Regions from separate parts of the Homo sapiens genome. Here region 1 is linked to region 2. Evidence: promoter capture Hi-C in human tissues and cell types (Jung and others, 2019). All regions are on one chromosome and are shown on one strand. The core of a region is centred on a gene start or on the middle of the fragment in contact, and the rest is flanking DNA. Distances in the headings are between cores, read along the strand shown.

Region 1 (4,857 bases), core at 2,077-4,576, 120 kb before region 2:
ACTTTGTTTCTGTCTCTCTCATGTCTAAGGGGAGGAGAACAACGTTTTGCAGACCTGGTCTCATGACCGGGCCGGTGTGTTGGAATGTAAGATGACTTTCTTTAGCAATGTCCCCTTGAATCCATTAGACATTTATTTTAGGTTGAGATGGTACTTTTAAAACCATTGTTAATGGTTTGAGGAGGCCTCAGACACCAAGGTGCCCCAGAATTGATGGCTGAGCCCACAAGCTGGCTGCTTGCCAAGGTGAAGGCCTGAGCCACCTCTCCCACTCCACCTTTTTTTTTTTTTTTTGAGAGTTTTGCTCTGTCACCCAGGCTGGAGTGCAGTGGCGTGATCTCGGCTCACTGCAACCTCCACCTCCCGGGTTCAAGCGATTATCGTGCCTCAGCCTCCCGAGTAGCTGGGATTACAGGTGCCTGCCACTGTGCCTGGCTAATTTTTGTATTTTTAGTAGAGGTGGGGTTTCACCATGTTGGCCAGGCTGGTCTTGAACTCCTGACCTTGTGATCCGCCCACCTCAGCCTTCCAAAGTGCTGGGATTATAGGCATGAGCCACCATGCCCCGCCTATTTTAATGTTTAATATTAGAAGTTGTATTAGTCCATTTTCACGCTGCTGATAAAGACATACCCAAGACTGGGCAATTTACAAAAGAAAGAGGTTTAATTGGGCTTATAGTTCCATGTGGCTGGGGGGGCCTCACAGTCATGGCAGAAGGCAAGGAGGAGCATGTCCCATCTTACATGGATGGCGGCAGGCAAAAAGACAGAACTTGTGCAGGGGAACTCCTCTTTTTAAAACCATCAGATCTCATGAGACCCATTCACCGTCACGAGAACAGTACGAGCAAGACCTGCCCTATGATTTAATCACCCCCCACCGGGTCTCTCCCACAACACGTGGGAATCGTAGGAGTTACAAGATGAGATTTGGGTGGGGACACAGAGCCAAACTGTAGTTTGCCTGTAGTCCAGGGTGCTTGGGAGGTGAGGTGAGAGGATCGCTTAAGCCTGGGAGGCAGAGGTTGCAGTGAGCTGAGATTGCACCACTGTACTCCAGCCTGGGCAACAGGGGAAGACCCTGTCTAAAAAAAAAAAAAAAAAAAAAAAAAAGAAAGAAAGGAAAAAAAAGAAAAAGGCCAGGTGCGCTGGCTCATGCCTGTAATCCCAGCACTTTGGGAGGCTGAGGCGGGTGGATCACCTGAGGTTGGGAGTTCAAGACTAGTCTGACTAACATAGTGAAACCCCATCTCTACTAAAAATACAAAATTAGCCGGGTGTGGTGGCTCATGCCTGTAATCCCAGCTACTTGGGAGGCTGAGGCAGGAGAATCGCTTGAACCTGGGAGGTGAAGGTTGCAGTGAGCCGAGATTATGCCATTGCACTCCAGCCTGGGCAACAAGAGTGAAACTCTGTCTCAAAAAAAAAAAAAAAGAAAGAAAGAAAAGAAAAGAAAAGAGAGAGGTGGGCAGGTCTCTCCTACATTGTGTTATGGTAGTGTGGTGGTGTGGTCGTGTGGTGTTGTGGTGTTGTGGTAGTGTGGTATTGTGGTGTTATGGTAGTGTGGTGTGGTAGTGTGGTGTTGTGGTGTGGTGTTGTGGTGGTGTGGTAGTGTGGTGGTGTGGTGTTGTGGTGGTGTGGTAGTGTGGTGTTCTGGTAGTGTGGTGGTGTGGTGTTATGGTAGTGTGGTAGTGTCCTGGTCAAAGGGCTTTCTGCCACCACGTTATCTTCTTTTGCAGGCCGACTGTTGCAACTTTATTCTACTGCATTATACAAGCAGGGACTGTGCTATCTGGAGGCCAGACCAGACTGGTAGAGAAGTATCTTAAGTGTTTCCTGACACCACAAATCCCCAAACACACTTGTGGTTCAGTTTCTGCTCACGCTACCCGACTTAAGTAACTTGTGCAGGACTCCAATCATCTCAGCATTAAGCCCTCCTGCACTCAAGGCCTTGCTCTGTGGCCTTTGAGCCTCAGCTTCCTGAGCTGTAAAATAGAGCTAGTAAGACCTTTCCTATAGAGCTGTAGGGGAATGGGTTCACGGCACGGTGGAGCTGACTTGTACTGACTCAGGAGGGTTGACTGATGATTTTCAGAAATCATTGGAGCCAGTTTGTAAATACAGCCATCATTAACAATTAAGTTCTATACACTTACGATTAAATAAATTATATTAAAAACAAAGCTCTAAAGACTCAAGACTCCTGGCTTCCTAATTATCTTACTACATTTTACCTATGCCCTGAGGTTATTTATATCCATGGTCTCTGCCTTGTGGAAGTGCTAGTAATGGTGGCTACTGAACACCTCTTCCCAACTCCACATTCAACAATGTCACTCTGGGACCTCAAAACCAACTGCGCTGGGAGTATTTACACCACAGAAATGGGCAAATGCTCTCAGCCAGGGCTTTCTTTACTCTTTTGTTGATTTTCTAGATTTAAGAAAGCAATGGAGAAAATGTTAATATTGGCCAGGCACGGTGGCTCACACCTGTAATCTCAGCATTTGGGAGGCCGAGGTGGGCAGATCACTGAGGTCAGGAGTTCAGGACCAGCCTGGCCAACATGATGAAACCCTGTCTCTACTAAAAATACAAAAATTAGCTTGGTGTGGTGTCGCATACCTGTAACCCCAGCTACTTGAGAGGCTGAGGCAGGAGAATCACTTGAACCCAGGAGGTGGAGGTTGCACTGAGCCGAGATTGTGCCACTGCACTCCAGCTTGGGCCACAGAGTGAGACTCCAAAACAAAAAGTTAATATTGCAAATTAAACTTGAAAGTGAATTGTACTTCTAGCAATAACATTGTGAATAGTACAAAAGATAAGGAACTATTCTCCCAGTATTCAAAGCTGTTATCCAATTTAGCAAAAAAAAGTAAAGTTCCAATATATAGTTGTCCCTTGGTATCCCAGACCCAGCCACCCAGGTGGAAGAAGGAGCCCAGGACCTGGAGGACACAGAACAGTGGAGGTGTCAGGCCAGGCCTGTGAGGTTTGGAGCTGGACCTGAACAGGATGGGGCCTCCAACTCTATCACTCCCACCCACCAAAGGGCAAGCTGGGCCCTGGCAAGTTGCAGGCCGAGAGTTTGGAAGCATAGGCTCCAGGTGTGAGTTCAAACCCTGGCTGTGACATTTATTTATTTATTTTTTTATTTTGAGACGGAGTCTCACTCTGTCACCAGGCTGAAGTGCAGCGGCGCAATCTAGGCTCACCGCAACTTCCACCTCCCGGGTTCAAGAAATTATCTTGCCTCAGCCTCCCAAGTAGCTGGGATTACAGGTACGCACCACCACGCCCGGCTGATTTTGTATTTTTAGTAGAGACGGGGTTTCTCCATGTTGGTCAGGCTGGTTTTGAACTCCCGACCTCAGATCCTGACATTTATAAGCTTCAATCTTGGGCAACCACTTACCTTCCTTCCCTGAGCCCTTGTTGTCCCATCTGGACCCATTAGTTTCAGGACCCTCCCTTGGATACCAAAATCCACGAATGCTCAAATCCCTTATATAAATTGGTGTAGTAGTTGCATATAACCTACACATATCCTCTCGTATATCTGAAATCATTTCTACACTACTTATAATACCTAATACAATGTAAATGCGGTGTAAATAGTTGTTATACTGTATTGTTTAGGAAATAATGACAAAAATAAGAAGTCTGTACATGTTTGGTACAGATGCAACCGTCCATTTTTTTTGAATGAATATTTTAGATCCATGGTTAGTTGAATCCATAAATGTGAAATCCACAGATTTAAAGGGCCTGCCGAATGTCTTTTTTGTTTCACTGTTTCTTACTCATTGACATACATGAAAATGCCAATCAACCCTCATATTAGAATCACACTCACTCATCAATACCATGAGCTATTTCTGGGCCAGGCTCAGTGGCTCACGCCTGTAATCCCAGCACTTTGGGAGGCCGAGGTGGGTGGATCACGAGGTCAGGAGTTTGAGACCAGCCTGACCAACATGGTGAAACCCCATCTCTACTAAAAATACAAAAATTAGCCGGGTGTGGTGTTGGGCGCCTGTAATCCCAGCTACTCAGGAGGCTGAGGCAGGAGAATTGCTTGAACCCGGGAGGTGGAGGTTGCAGTGAGCTGAGATTACGCCATTGCACTCCAGTCTGGGTGACACAGCAAGACTCCATCTCAAAAAAAACAAAACAAAACAAAACAAAAACCAAAAAAAACTATGAGCTATTTCTTTTGTTGGGTCAGGTAGTAATCAAGCACTTATTTGTGGTAGGATTTATACTCTATGTTCACATATGTATGTGTACTCTCCCCCACCCCAACCTGCCCTCCAGATAGCTGGTTGTTCAGCATTTACCCCGCACAGCACAGAATGTGGCCATGGATGTGAAAATTCTTACCACAGAGACAGGGCTCCACGATGTCAGCTCAGCGATGGCCCTGTGGCTGGAACCCTTTGGAAAGGCGACATGTGTGTCTGAGTTGAGGTGGAAACTAGTTCTTTTTTTTTTTTTTCTGAGACTAAATCTCGCTCTGTCACCCAGGCTGGAGTTCAGTGGCATGATCTCGGCTCACTACAACCTCCTCCTCCCGGGTTCAAGCAATTCCTCTGCCTCAGCCTCCTGAGCAGCTGGGATTACAGGCGCATGCCACCATGCCCGGCTAATTTTTGTATTTTTAGTAGAGATGGGGTTTCACCATATTGGCCAGGCTGGTCTCGAACTCCCGACCTCGTGATCTGCCTGCCTTGGCCTCCCAAAGTGCTGGGATTACAGACATGAGCCACTGCGCCCAGCCAGAACTAGTTCTTTTACTTTATTTATTTATTTATTTATTTGAGATGGAGTCTCACTCTATCACCCAGGC
Region 2 (5,395 bases), core at 700-3,199:
GGGGGGTCTGAGGAGGGGGACAGGGCAGAAGGGAGAGGCCCCCATCCCCTTCCTTGCTTGCTGTTCTCCTCACACCCCACGATGAGAAATGAAGTTGTGGGCCCAGCCCCCCCAACGAGAAAATTCTTCCAAGGACATCAAACCTTAGTCACCAGGGATGGCGCTTTTACCATGAACACCTGTTAAAACTCAACTCATGACCAGTTTCTGATGCTACAGACTGGAGTGTTTAATTAAATATTACTCACTCAGGAAGCAGCCCCTGCCAACTCACCCCCAAACTGTGTAGTTCATTTTCAGAGAAATGGAGAGAGGAAGAGCCTGCGCTCTCCTCGGGGGCACCAGCAGGGCTTGCCTAGTGGGGTGTCTGTGGCCCAGCATGCCCGGCTATCCAGAACCAAGTAAAGAAATCACCATGAGGAGCAGTACCTAGGAACCAGAGGGCCCCCTGGATGGTCCCCACACACACTCACAGAGAAACACACACAAAGACACACAGACACACACTTGGAGACACACAGACACTCACACATACACAGACGCACTCAGAGACACAGACACAGAGACAGACACAGAGACACGTGTGGACACACAAAGAGACACAAAGACACACACACGCAAAGACACACACAGACACAAAGACACAGAGACACACATTTGCAGAGACAGACACTCAGAGACACAAACTTGCAGAGACACACACCCAAAGACACATACACACTCACACACAGACACACACAAAGACACACAGACATACACAGAGAGGCACACACAAATACACAAAGACGCACTCAGACACACACACACACACACAGTCACTTAGAGTCTCAGGCACACATTGACAGACACACAGACTCACACACACACTCAGAGGCACATAAATACACAGATGCACTTAGAGACACACTCACACACACACCCACATGAACACACAGACACACTCATACGCAGGCACATATTCACAAGGACATGCACAAACACACACGCAGATGCACTCTCAGAGACACCCGCTCTTCCTGCAGACCCGCACCCTCCTCTCGGGGCCGTCCCGTCCTCACCGGAACCTGGACGCCACCGAGCCCAGTACACGCCCGGGGACGGTGACCCATCCGCGGTTCCTCCCGCGGGCCCAGGCCGCCCTTGTTTTTCTGATTTAATCGATTTCCTGACAACCCTCCGGCTCTCCCTCCGCTGCTGGGAGAAGCCGCGGCGGCTCCGGGGCGGCGGGGAGGGCGGCGCTCGGGTGTCCCCGGCAGGCTCCCTGGGGGAGGCGCTGCGGGAGGGTGGGGGCGCCCCGACGGGGGACCGGGCCGCGCCGCCAATCCCGACTCGGACTGGCGGGAAAAGCGAAACTAACTCAGCCGAGCGGGGTCCCGCTTTCCCCGGGCTAAAGGGGGGACGGGTCGGCGGCCCCGGAGCGCCCCAGCCCCTCCTCGGGACCGCAACTCGTTGCGACGGTCCCCGCGCCCCGAGACCCCCGCCGCGCCTCGCCCCGGGACCCCCTGCCCTGCAGCGGCGGCAGCGCGGGGCGGGCCTGGGCCCCTCTCCCAGGAGCCGCGGCGAGGGAGGCGCCCCCGGAGCCACCGCGGGAGGGGCCGCGCCCCGAGTCCCCATCCCGTACTCCACCCGCTCCCCCGCGCCCGGCCCCGCGCCACCCACTCGGTCCCCCAGCGGCGCGATCCCCGCGTCCGCCCTCGCCCGGCCCCCCGCGCCTCCCCCTCCCGGGCCGGTCGCCCACCCATCGGGGTCCCAGGTGCCCCGCGCCGCCTACCGCGCCCGGGGTGCCGCCGCCGCCGCTGCTCTCCAAGGCCGAGGAGGCTCGGGCGCCCGGGCCGCGCCCGCCGCAGGGAGCGAAGTCGCCTCCTCCCCGCGGCCCCGGCCCCGGCGCCGGCGCCTGGAGCCTGGTTCCTGCTGCGAGCGCGCAGGCTGCCCGAGCGCGACTTCTGTGCGGAGGAGAAAAAGCAACCGACGGCTTTAAAGTGAAAAAAAAGAGAAAAGCGCCGGTGGGCGGGGCCGTCCCTGCCCCGCCCCGCCCCGCCCCGCCCCCGACCTCGGGCGCACGGACCACTCAGCACTGCAGGGAAGGCCGGGGGCGCGGGGCGCGGGGCGCGGGGCGCGTCAGCCCGGCGCTGGTTCGGCCGCCCCCTCCGCCCCCTTAGTCCGCAGCCCTCTCCCGAGCCGCCGCCCTGGTGTTGCCGGCCCGAAGCTCGGGTCCCTCCGGAGGCGTCTTTGGGAAACGCGTGGCGCAGGGCCTGGGTTGCAGCCGTGGGAGGCTGGAGTGGGGGCGGGGGTCTTACGAGAAGGAGAAATCTTCGCGGAGAGTGGGGTTGTCCCAGGAACCCCGAGCAAGGCCTCGCCGGCCTCCTCTGAAGTGCCCAGCGGGGACGAGTGGGCAGCCGCCGGGGGTCCAGGGAGCCTCCTGCAGCGCTGTTTCGGCCGCTCGCGTTTCGGTGCCCACGGGGACGGGGGCCTCGGACCTCGAGACCCTGAGGGCGCGGGCACCTGGCATCCGCAGGGCTGCTCCCTGAACAGGTCCCAGCCTCTGGGGACTTGTCCTGTGGCTCTAGCTCGTTCAAGGAATTTTCCTCCCCCTTCCCCGAACAGAGCAGTCACTTGGGACTGGGAAGATTTTAAAGACTTTGCTGTTTTGAGAGCAAAATCTCCTGGCATTCCCCACCCCTCGCTGTGTAGTGTCCATTGAAAACGGTGAGGAGTTAGCCTTTCTGGGGGAGCCGAAACAAATAGCGGGGCTTCCGTAGTTACTGTGTCTTTACCATAACCCAGTACAGTGAGGGTGGGACTAATGACACACTCACTGTAAAGGCGAGGAAACAGTGCCTGGCCCGAGGCCAGCTGTCCAGAGCTTGGAACCCAATTGAACTGTGAGATTACAAAGTTTGATGTCTCTCATTTTACGGTGCTGAAAATCAGTTTGGTTTAGCTTTGTTTGAACTCAGAATAGGATTACGGAGACTCAACCAACTGCCCTGGGCTGGGCGGGCCTGAGTGGGCATTCTGACTTTCCAGGTGCCAGCGGTTTAGGAATGTTGAACCCAGACTAGTCAGGTGGGCAGCCATGGCCAGCAGCTTAGGGGTGCTTCCCATTTAAAAGATCACTTGAGGCTGGAGGTGGTGGCTCTCACGCCCTTAATCCCCACACTTTGGGTGGCTGAGGCAGGCAGATCACTTAAGCCCAGGAGTTCAAGAGCAGCCCGGGCAACAGAGCAAGACACAGACTCTGCACAAAAATTAAATAATAATAATAATAATTGGCCGGGCATGATGGCTCACACCTGTAATCCCAGCGCTTTGGGAGGCTGAGGCAGGTGGATCACCTGAGGTCAGAAGTTCAGGACCAGGCTGGGCTTGGTGGCTCACACCTGTAATCCCAGCACTTTGGGAGGTCGAGGCGGGCGGATCACGAGGTCAGGAGATGGAGACCATCCTGGCTAACACGATGAAACCCGTCACTACTACAAATATAAAAAATTAGCCAGGCGTGGTGGCGGGCATCTGTAAGTCCCAGCTACTTGGGAGGCTGAGGCAGGAGAATGGTGTGAACCCGGGAGGCAGAGATTGCAGTGAGCCGAGATTGCGCCACTGCACTCCAGCCCAGGTGACAGAGCGAGACTCCGTCTCACAAAAAAAAAAAAAAAAAAAAAAAAAGAAGTTCAGGACCAGCCTGGCCAACATGGCAACACTCCATCTCTACTGAAAATGCAAAAATTAGCTGGGTGTGGTGGTACGTGCCTGCGATCCCAGCTACTCGGGAGGCTGAGGCAGGAGAATCTCTTGAACCCAGGAGGCAGAGGTTGCAGTGAGCCGACATCGCACCACTGCACTCCAGCCTGGGCAACAGAGCGAGACTCCATCTCAAAAAAAAAGAAAAAAAAGGTAATAATAATTTTAAAAGAGCATATGACCCCCTCCAGCCACTCTGCAGTTTGAGAACTGTTGTTTACTTGGGAGACTGGTGAGAGCCTCTGGGACAGGCCCATGGGGTGCAGCCCACGTCAGTCATTGCTGAAAATCACAGCTGCCTCTGATGGGTTCATTTCTCCTTGGGAGAGTAGCCCTGTTTGGTGGATTATTCACTGTGTGTGTGGCATCTACCAGACACTGGCATCTCATGGGGCTGGTGCTACGGCCACGTGGCCTGGGGCCATGGTGTTGTCAGCTTTGCTAAGAGGAACTCCACCAAGCCTCACCTCTTAACATCTGGGAAGCTTCCAGGGCAGACTGGGGCACTTTGGAGCTAGAGACCCAGCTTTGATGTTTAAGGCCCTGAAAGACAGTTCCTGATGAAAAGTCTTCAGCACCCCCACCCCACCCCCCTTCGGCGTTAATCTGGAAATCTCAGCTCTTGATCCAGTTGAATAATTAGACCCTGCTGACCTAAATTTCCCAGAAGAACCCCTGGGGAGTGGGCCTTCTCTCCTCCAGGACGCTGGGCAGGTTGGCCGGATGATGGAAGGCTGGTCAGCCGGCAGTGACTGCTGCAGCATGGGGCAATGTTGAGCAATCCTGGAAGCCAGTTTATGTGTCAGAAGGGCTCAGAATCACCCTAGCATGCTGATACTATTGTTTGTTAAAAAAAGATACATAATCTTGCAACATTGTGACATAAGCTGATAGATACTATCCAAAAATTTGAAGGGTGACTCAGGACTTATACAAAGATCTGTGTACTGCAGGGGTGAGTCGGGAGGGAGGTGGCTCTGGGCTCCCAGTGGTGTCATCCCCAACCCCCTCCCCAACTCCACCCCACCCCCACACACATTTTATCACTTGCATCAGCACAATTTGCTCATGTCTTTAATCTGTCTCCGGGAAATGGTGAAGAGAAACTTGATAGATGGTGAATTAGCATCAGCTGCTTTTTCTGATGATGGTTCTGAGCCTTGAGCTCTTAGCACAGAATCCTGCTGCCCTCACAAGTGTTAAAGGCTGCCATCTTCTCTGAATCCCTTTTGCTGATTGGAGCAAATGTGCAAAGGATTTGGTAATAGACAAACCCAATGCAACCCCCAGCTCTGCTATTCATCAGCTGTGTGACCTTGAGCAAGTTACTTAACCTTTCTGAGATTTCCTGTTCTCATCTGTAGAACTGCTCTACACATTTCCCCAGAAACTGGGGAGGTGGTGCAATCATTCAACCAACATTAACTGAACACAATTAATTGTGCTAGAATGAAATCAAGGATTTTGAGAATTTTCAAGATAATAGGTTTTTTTTTTAAAGAAAAGCTTGGTATCCACAACACAGAATTGTAGCAAGATCCACCAGAACATGAAGAACACTGAAGCATATTAATAAAATCTACATCTATTATGCATCCTTAGCATAAGATGTGTACTTATCTCATGATGCAAAACAGAAGTAGAGTGTTTATAT

What was found. The method cuts DNA at HindIII sites, captures the fragments that hold promoters and counts their contacts. A contact is called where the count stands out against the background at its distance.
Region 1: a fragment that was not itself captured here is called in contact with the fragment with the promoter of SPSB1 in region 2 in 5 of the 25 tissues and cell types used here (bladder, dorsolateral prefrontal cortex, heart right ventricle and 2 more).

Annotation. Positions count from the first base shown.
Region 1 is chr1:9,407,944-9,412,800 of GRCh38, reverse strand. No RefSeq gene overlaps it. Among named protein-coding and RNA genes, the nearest start is that of LINC02606, 19 kb to the left of the region's middle. RefSeq lists an enhancer at 1-195. The HindIII fragment of the contact is 3,343 bases long and covers 1,655-4,857 here.
Region 2 is chr1:9,289,448-9,294,842 of GRCh38, reverse strand. It overlaps SPSB1 (splA/ryanodine receptor domain and SOCS box containing 1), which reads right to left and starts at 1,949. Exons shown (of 3, transcript NM_025106.4): 1 at 1,772-1,949. RefSeq lists silencers at 1,015-1,304, 1,845-1,914, 1,985-2,064, 2,115-2,284. The HindIII fragment of the contact is 10,751 bases long and covers 1-4,737 here.